Linked DNA regions of Homo sapiens: region 1 is linked to region 2. Evidence: promoter capture Hi-C in 16 types of primary human blood cells and fetal thymus (Javierre and others, 2016). All regions are on one chromosome and are shown on one strand. The core of a region is centred on a gene start or on the middle of the fragment in contact, and the rest is flanking DNA. Distances in the headings are between cores, read along the strand shown.

Evidence for each region. The method cuts DNA at HindIII sites, captures the fragments that hold promoters and counts their contacts. A CHiCAGO score of 5 or more calls a contact.
Region 1: a fragment that was not itself captured here is called in contact with the fragment with the promoter of DEFA4 in region 2 in 1 of 17 cell types (fetal thymus); the score reaches 5.4 in fetal thymus.

Annotation. Positions count from the first base shown.
Region 1 is chr8:6,422,311-6,427,032 of GRCh38, reverse strand. All of the region lies in intron 3 of MCPH1 (microcephalin 1), which reads right to left. Among named protein-coding and RNA genes, the nearest start is that of MCPH1, 18 kb to the right of the region's middle. The HindIII fragment of the contact is 2,940 bases long and covers 1,681-4,620 here.
Region 2 is chr8:6,937,056-6,942,190 of GRCh38, reverse strand. It overlaps DEFA4 (defensin alpha 4), which reads left to right and starts at 3,885. Exons shown (of 3, transcript NM_001925.3): 1 at 3,885-3,965. RefSeq lists a silencer at 4,080-4,149. The HindIII fragment of the contact is 1,500 bases long and covers 3,030-4,529 here.

The sequences.
Region 1 (4,722 bases), core at 1,901-4,400, 510 kb after region 2:
TGTGCAGTAGCTATGTCATGCAGGTGTGTGTTAATACACACTGTGATGTCTCCACAACAACAAAATCACCTATTCGTTTCTCAGAAGGCATCCCTGTCGTCAAGCAATACCTGACTGTATATTTAAAACCACTGAATTGTATACTTTAATTGGACAAATTGTGTAGCATATGAATTAGATCTTAAAACAATGTTGGGAAAAAAAAAACCATGAAATACCACTACACATCTGCTTGAATGGCTAAAATTCAAAAGATGGATAAATTTCAACTATTGGTGAAGACGTGGAGTGAAAGGAACACTGCTGGTGGGAATATACAGTGCCATAACCACCTTGGAAAAGTTTGGGTAATGACCCAAGAGAAATGAAAGCATACAAAGACACAAATGTAAATGTCCATTGTAACTTTATTCATAATAACCTAAAATGGCAAACTAGCCCAATCTCCATCAACTGGTGGCACCAAGCTACATGCCTACAATAGAATACTACTCAGCTATAAAAGGAAGTGAAACCACTGCTACAAACAACACGGACAGATCGCAAAAACATCACCTTCAGTGATGTCAGGCACAAAATAGTACACGCTGGATGATTCCACTGATCTGAAGCCCCAGAATTGGTGACACTAATCTTTAATGACAGAAACCAGATCTGTGGCTGCCCTGGGGTGGGAGGAGGGGGCAGGGAGGCCGACAGCAAATGGACACGAAGGAGATTTTGGGGTGATGAAAATGCTCTGTATTTTGGTTGTGGTGGTGACACAGGTATACACAAAAAACCCGTGAATGTACACTTAAAATGGGTCCATTTTATTTTATGTAAATGTTTTTATAAAGCTGATTTTAAAAAAACAAACCAACTATCTGAGCCTGCAATAATGGGGTGAGCAGAATGCTGTATCTAATAAAAGTGATGGGAAAGGGAGGCGGGTGGAAGAGAACGAGGAAGGAAATGTTTTTTAACTGTGCTTCTTTTTAAAAAGTCCCCTTAATTACCAATTTTAAGCATGAGAAGTTTTTAGCAGCTTCTTCTTACTCAAGCAAAATGTCACCGATTTACCACTATTATGCCTAAGGGAACAGCAAAAGGGGGGTGGCTGAGATGCATCTGGACGAAAGACGTAGAGGAGACCCTAGATAATCGTGTTATCAAATACACAGTATTAAAATCACCACCATCATCAGGACAAAGGTCACCCAGCTCATGAGAAGCCTCACACCAACCGTGCTGGAAAAGCCACTACCATTGCCTCCTATTGCACAACACAGAAAACCGAGGAGCAGAGAAGATCATTTGCCAAACTTTACAAAACCAGTAAGTATTCTTTAAGTTAGCAGTTTAAGGAAGGGCTTGATTCAACCCAGGAAAACGTGTGCCTGACATAGGTTATACAGTTGTGGAAGATGTGTTCTGTTCCTTTGGGAGAAGCTTCCCAACCACATATCCTTCAGAGTGATAAGATGTAAGGTGCACAGAGATGCTCTCCCTGAATTTCATCTACCTGGGTGTAACTATCATCACTCACTATGAAGAAGTAAGTGGCACTTACTGCTGGTAATGCCGTTCTGCATGCCAACAGCTATGCTTTAGCACACGTGGTAACACATTAAAGCTGCTACACTGAAACCCATGTTTACCAGGGGTCCAACCAAAATCTACTGAACAGACAAAAAAGCTTCCAGTTAGATTTCTATTTTTCTTCAGAAATGTAAAATGATAACATTATCCCACCATCTAGTGGTCAAAACGAAAAGTGTTTCAAGAGATGTCTCTAAACAGAGAACCAACTATTTGACCTGCTGCTGCCTCAGAGCCAACAGAAATCAAAGCAGCAACGTTCTCCTCGGGAAGCCGTGCTGTGATGAGCTTATTCTCCCCAGAGAGCCGATTCACTCCAGCACTTCCCACAGTACACCTGCTAGGTCGGCCAGGAACCACCGACTCTCATTCTACCCTTAGGACGATGCCTTCACCTGGGCCAATCCTGCATTCTTTATGCTACTCTTGTGCCAAACTGCCCAGCACCAGTATCTTATTCTCTAGGCCCAGTCAGTAAGTCAATTCAGGAAAAGTACATTAATCTTTTTTGTAAACGGCACTGTGTTAGTGAGGTAAAAAAGTGAATGGCATCTCCTTGAAGATTCCAGCCGCGAAGCACGCTATCCTTCACGTGTGTCCCTGACACACAAGGAAGAACACAGGAGACTCAGAGAAGTCTGCACAACAGTGCTCTGCCAGCAGAGAGCGAACTTCTGTGGTCTAGCACTAAATAACCGTAGGAAGTTAACTCAGGAGCTACTGGAGGAACCTAGAGCCCAGCAGTTGAGTAATTTGCCCAGTCCTAAATGGCTACACATCCACTGTTACACATTGATGTGATATTAGGAGGACACATCAGACCGTTCCAAACTGAGGGACGTTCCTATCACTGGTCAGTGACCTTAAACAGTGTCAAAGTCACAAAAGCCAGTGAAAGACTAAGGAATGGCTGCAGGGTGAGAAGGCTGAGGAGGCGGGAAGTGGAGCTGGCTGCTGGTAGGATAGGAATGGAGTCTGAGGATTCCGGGAGGAAAGGAGCCGTGGTAAGCCCCTAATGTCGGCCTGTGTTGTGGTTATGCAGGAATATGTCCCTGTTTCCAGCAAACACTAAATGCAGGGGGTGATGGCCTTCGGTCAGCAACCAACTCTCAGCCTAGCAAGGACAAAGCCTGTGAACCGTATTCCCCACCTAGCTGTTAGTTTGCAGTTGTTTAAAAATGATAAATTGTCTTCAACAGAACTTAGAGTGGGGGCCAAGCTGACCTTTATTTCAACTTTATGTATTCTTTCTTCAAGGTAAAAATTTCTACATCCAAAGGAAATGTCAGAATTTTATCAATTGCCATCTGATCTTAAAATGAACACTCCCAGAAGGAACCCAACAGAATGGGATTCTAGTGACACCTAGTGACCTTATGAAGTTAATGTTCACATTTTCAGTGGAAACCATGAGCTACTGCATTGGAAAGGCAGGCAGTTCACCAAGAAAGGACAGACGTGACATAAAAAATGCAGGTCAGTTTGGCTCTTATCTCTATGCTCTGCTGAAGAAAATTCAAGCTCACTAAAAGTCAGAGAAATGCAAATAAAAACTATTATTTTTCTTCTACAAATTAGAAAGAAGAACTGATAACTCACAACATTAGCAAAGGTATTGGGAAACATGCATTTTTTTGATAATTCCAGTGAGAATGGAAACCAGTACACTCCTTCCAGAAGATAATTTGGCAGCATCTATCATATTTAAATATGTAAACTCTCAGAAATGAACAGCCCACTTTGGGGATTTAAACCTATGGAAAGATTTATCACCCGCAAAAAGGTAATACATACAGAAGCTCAATGCTGTAATATTTCTAATTGAAAAAAATAACTAAGAAATGAAAAACTTCAATCACCAATAGGACACTGCTTACATAAATTACTGGACAGCTACTACAAAATATTCTTATATATATAAAGTGGGATGCATCTGCATGTACAGGCAAAAAAATGACCTGTAATAAAAAGTTGACTAAAGTGTATGGGCCGGGCGCAGGGGCTCATGCCAGTAATCCCAGCACTTTGGGAGGCCGAGGCGGGCGGATCACAAGATCAGGAGATGGAGACCATCCTGGCTAACACGGTGAAACCCCGTCTCTACTAAAAATACAAAAAAATTAGCCAGGCGTGGTGGCGGGCGCCTGTAGTCCCAGCTACTCAGGAGGCTGAGGCAGGAGAATGCAGTGAGCCAAGATTGCACCACTGCACTCCAGCCTGGGCGACAGAGCGAGACTCAGTTTCAAAAAAAAAAAAAAAAAGAAAAGAAAAGAAAAATGCCAAAAGATTAAGTTCACTTTTGAGCTTCTGAGGACCTTAAAAGTGTGCTTTTGCCAGGCACGGTGGCTCTTACCTGTAATCCTAGCACTTTGGGAGGCCAAGGTGGGCGGATCACCTGAGGTCAGGAGTTAAACCAGCCTGGCCAACATGGTGAAACCCTGTCTCTCCTAAAAATATAAAAATTGGCCGGGCACAGTGGCTCACGCCTGTAATCCTAGCACTTTGGGAGACCGAGGAGGGCGGATCACAAGGTCAGGAGATCGAGACCATCCTGGCTAACACAGTGAAACCCCGTCTCTACTAAAACCACAAAAAATTAGCCGGGCGTGGTGGCGGGCTCCGGTAGTCCCAGCTACTCGGGAGGCTGAGGCAGGAGAATGGCATGAACCCAGGAGGCGGAGGTTGCAGTAAGCCGAGATCGCACCACTGCACTCCAGCTTGGGCAAGAGAGTGAGACTCAGTCTCCAGAAAAGAAAAAGAAAACTTTGCTTTTGGATAACGAAGTTACAAGTATTATGGGGTCTGCATGAGCCCCTTGAGAAAGGCTGGGGTTAGTGGTGGGCAGAAATAGAGAGAGAGAGAAAGGGGATAGAGAATGAGTCAGGGGCTGGGCCAGCAAAGCAGAGTAAGAATCCCTAACTCTCAGCAGAACACACTACCAGTGACCATCCCCATTGTAGGGTTAGCTGAGAGGCCCTATTAGGTACAGAAATGGCTACTATTTTAATTTTGTCCATGCATCTCCATTTACTTCAAGCTTCTAGTAAAGGTCTCTGTTTCTGCACTCTCCCCTCCACATTTCTATACGACTTTTAAAATGTAGTTTTTTTTCAAATCATTTTCCCCCATGATATTTTCTCT
Region 2 (5,135 bases), core at 2,636-5,135:
CCTCTTGTGAACCACCAGATATCACTGATGCAGATCAGGGCTCCCACTTCAGGGTGGTGCTGGGCAACTCAGCATGGGGGTTAGGGGACCCTCACTTAGCCACTGGCCTCCTCAAGCAACACAGTGGCCTCCTAAAGTCATGCTTATTAAAGTTGTGGCATGAGCACAGACTAAGTCAAATTAGGAAAGGCTCCAGTCCCCCTACAAGTGGTTCATCAAGGGAACCAAGCTCCTTTGAGAGCCTTAACTATCTTAATTCTCAACACCATGGCCACCAGCTCTTCTACAATTGGACCAGACCAACCATGGCACCCACCCTGGTGATCACAGAAGAGTTGAGCTCTTTTTCCCTTATGGATACCATCACCCACATTTTCTGCAATAATGAGACCCCCTCATACCATCACAAGATGTCCACTGTCTCAGCATCAAACATTTACTAAAGACTCGATCGAGGATGGACAGTGATAGGGTTTGGCTGTGTTCCCACCCAAATGTCATCTTGAATTCCTATGTGTTGGAGGGACCTGGTGGGAGGTAATTGAATCATGGAGGCAGGTCTTTCCCATGCTGTTCTCATGGTAGTGAATAAGTTTCACAAGATCTGATGGTTTTATATAGGGAGTTTCCCTGCAGAAGCTCTCTCTTTGCCTGCTGCCACCCACGTAAGACTTGACTTGCTCCTTTTGTCTTCTACCATGATTGTGAGGCCTCCCCAGCCATGTGGAACTGTGAGTCCATGAAATCTCTTTCCTGCATAAATCACCCAGTCTCGGGTAGGTCTTTATGAGCAGCATGAAAATGGACTAATACAGATAGTGAGCTGTGATCCTCTGGGGACTGATGGTCCAGGCAGCTGCCACAGAGCAGCCCTAAGATGCTTCTGCTACACCAGACCTCACCTCTTGACATACAGCCTCCAGCAGAAGCTCCAGTTCTTCCTGCTTTGAAAGGTAGCTAATATCTCCCACTCACTCCTCCCTGAAGGAAGTGGGGATTGTTTCTCTGCAGCCCAAAGAGGGTACAGTCTGGGTCACTAAATGAGGAGAAAAAGCCATCAAACTAGAGGACGCCAACTACATCAGACAAAGACCACATGGAACTACCATCACCATGTCCTGTGTCGATTGCAGAAAAATGCTCTGAAGAAATGTTGGTGAAAGCCCACCCCATAATCAATATCGACGTAAAAGTACCTTGAGGAAATCCCTGAGTTATAAGCTGTCAGTGCTCTCTATCTTTGGCCTTGCTGGGTATCTTATGTATGTAAATGTTGTACGGCTGCTCTTAGGCCTGGGGCCTGGCATCCCAGAGAGCTGCTGGAACAGGACAGCCACTGTGAGAAATTGAACCCCAGGCTGGAAAACTGTGGCATGTTGAGGCAATGTGCTAGAGGGGCAAAACCCCAAATGCCACCTGACCTGGATCCAAGCCAGGAAACCCGATCCTTAGATATTGAATGGGACCCATGGCACTAAAGCTTAAACACCAGCAACCCCCACAATCAGAGGCAGGTGGCCCTCCCCATGACCAGGCATGAATACAAACCAGCTAATGATGCCTCAGCACAAACTCAGTCTGTGGCCGGAAAGGTTGGAGCCTCACATGCAGAGAAAGCATTCAAACACGTTCATGGGCTTAGGGATACTTCTGTGCTCCAAAGTATGTGAGTTGTGGATGGAAATGTCCTATCCCCCGACCAAGGAAAGCACCACTCAAGCTTTCACTAAACGCTTCCATGGAGTCCCACAGAGGCCAGAGGCCTGTGCAACACCAGCCCATACCCTCTCTCTTCTTGAGTGACCAGCTGGAAAGGCCACCCCTACCCGAAAGGCCATCACCTCAGAAGACAGTGCTCTGATCCAAGGGTTTGTCCTGGGAAACAGTGGCCTCACCAGAACCAGAGACACCAAGGAATCTCATCTTGACTGTGGGGTCATCCCCAAACCAGACTCACCTTACTCTCCTTCCTGCCGCAAGGTATGGATCTCACCACCCCCGGGACATGGAGTTGGCTCACGTCCAGTACCTGGACCCGTGCTTTCTTAGCTCATGCTTTCCTGAGGACCCTGCAGATGACCCCTTAGAATGGTATTTTGCTGGGATCCCCATTTGTCTTCAGTGTAACCCATTAGTTAAACCGCCTACTGCAAGGAAACCACAAGGCTTGGATCAGATCAGGAGGCTGCCCTACAAGTTATGCCAAAAAATATGGACTTGGAAGACCTGTCTGTTATAATATCACACCCAAATCTAACCAGCTCTGCCAATAACAGCTCTCTCCTATGTTACTAGGAAAATGCCTATGGATTGGAGTGTGTTCTGTGTGCAGGAGGCTGGTCCAGGTTTCACTTCTGCAGGACACTGGACATCCCCACAACCACCAGACCTTCCCCACGTGCACACACACCCCTTCTCATTTTGCCTCTACATCCATATCCACTGGGCCCTTCAGGCACCTACTAATGCCCTAGAACCTAAAACCATCATCTGGGGCCCAGTTCCCCAAATAGCCCTAATTTCTTCCTCTGCTGGAATGAGTCCAGTGCCCACTTCCTCCAAAGGTGAAATTGCTGGGCCTGCAACAGATCAGGAACTCACTGCTTCCTCATAGGGGCAGCCGACTTCACTGCTCTGGAACAGCGACCACCCCTAGCGAGGCTTGAGATGCCTCTTCCCTCCTTAAGACTGAGAGCGCCGCTGCCCCCAGTCCTCCATAGCCCAGTGCCTGCTGCCTTCACGCAGAGCTGCAGGGGAGGCCCTGAGCACCCAGCCTGCTGGACCAGCGCTGTGCACGGCCCTCCCATGGCGGCAGGGGCTGCCTGGACTGCATACTGGGTTCAGCAACCTCACTATAGGTATTCATTCCCTCAGGAACAACTGCATTCTTTTCTCATTTCCAGAAACCTCATCCCGTTTACCTCACTACAAGGAGGAGGATGGTGGAGAGTGGTACATTTTAAAATGTGCACTAGTCTCCCTGGGACTCCCCTTCAAATAACCCAGGAGGGACCACACAAGGGAAAGCTTATGCATCCCCCCCACCCAGTGACCATCTTCCTAACTCTGGGTGTAGGGAGACTCGTAAGCCTACGGGATTGGTTTGGGAACAGGGTATTTGAGCTCACAACACAAGGTGATGCAAGCTAACACCAATCTCGCTGCAGCTTTGGCCACCATCCTAAGGGACTTCTGACAGACATTAGGTGTCACGCAATCATTTGATGAGTCCTTGGCCTGGATGACCTAGACAGTCATTTAGGCTTGAACTATCTAAGGCCAAGCAAAAAGGTGACTGTCCCCTCTAGGGAACCACATGCTATATGCACATCCTTTACTCGGGAGCCTGCAACCTGCCCTATCCAGCAACACAAGCCCAGGCGGTATTCAGTCTCATCCAGGTATTCTCCAACCTTACTTGTCTGAATGGCTTGGATTTGTTTTTATGGTTAGACCCCAGGGCCTGGGGAGGTCAGTTCAGACCACATTCCAAATCCTCATCTGTGTGTGGGTGGCATTTTGATCCTAGTCTCCTCGCAAGGTGTATACAACAATATGCAGGCCAGGCTCTCCTGGTGGCTTTAAATATTCCCTCGGTCCAGGTAGTTCAGCCTCAGCCACCAGCATAGGTATCATGGGGTCAATTGTCTTAGGAGTCATGAGGAATCCATAGTTGATTGCTGCCTGGGCCTGGCCAGGGCTGACCAAAGTAGACGAGGGGTCGGTACCTCCGTGGACTCCTGCTTGAACTCCAGCTTTCTGCCAAATTTCTCAACTGCCCTTGTTAACAGTTATTTAAAGTACCCAATAGAAAGTAACCCTGAAAAATTAGGACACCTGATACCAAAAGACCCTTAAATAAGGAAGTCCTCTCCTCTGTGTGCATGGCTGCTCTTGCTACATAAGACCTGGAACACAGGACTGCTGTCTGCCCTCTCTGCTCGCCCTGCCTAGCTTGAGGATCTGTAAGTAACACAAAACTTAAACTTTCACATTGAGGTTTCAATATTGAAGCTGTGTCCCCAGTCTGACCTCTCACTGTGGGGCCACCCCAGAGGGACCCAGCGGGTGAAGCCCCTGCTGTGAACTTCTATCTGGGTGTCTGGCGGCTGCTGGGGGTAATGGCTACTAGCTAAGTCAATAGAGAAACTCAAAAAGTTTCCTTCCAAACACACGTGTCCTACTTGACATGTCCAATAAAGACGATCACAGCTTCTTAAAACATTATTTTATTGTGAGAGAAGCCTCTGCAGGTCCTAGGTCTGTTTTTCAATCAGGTTGTTTGTTTTTTGCTATTGAGTTGTTTGACTTCCTTATGTATTCAGATATTTACCCCTTCTACCACGTAGGCTTTGCAAACATTTTCTCTCATTTTCTGGGTTGCCGTTTCCCTCAGTTGATTGTTTCCTTTGCTATGAAGATGCTTTAGCGTTCAATGCAGCCCCGCTTGTCTATTTTCCCATTTGTTTATTGCCTGTGCCTTTGGTGTCATAGCCAAGAAATCATTACTCACGTCAATGTCCAAAGCTTTATCTTTGTATGTGCTTCTCGTAGTTGTATGGTTTCAGGTCTTTTCAAGTCTATGTTGAGTCTTCAATCCATGTTGAGCTGATTTTTTACATGCTGTGAGAGAAAGGACCACGTGTATGCACCTAGCAACTCATGAACCTTACACAACTCTTTATCTCTCTCACTGAGCTCATTTCACCTGTACCCTGATAAGGTCATTGTCCTCTTCACTCTGGCCCCTACAGGAGACTACTCACCCCATTACCTCAGTCGCCCCTTCATGAGGGTATAATGACCTAGAAGCCTGCAATGAGTTACTCTCTACTCCACCGGAATACAGGTCTGGCACCAGTGTTTAGACCTGAAGAGAATAGTAGGGCCCATTATCAGGAAATAAGAGGCATTTGCTCTCTTAAATTATTGAATGAAAGCACTGTTTCCATTCTTTTTAGAATATTAAAGATTTAACCAGGAAATATTAGGTATTTCCTGAAAACAGGAAAAAATGCCAGGGTCCTCATCATCACCATCAACTTCAACCTAGCACAGACACTAAACATAGAGCTTCCTGTGAAGAAAGCTGGGAGAGCAGAGGAGCATTCCAGGGATGTCAAGGCCAATAGGAG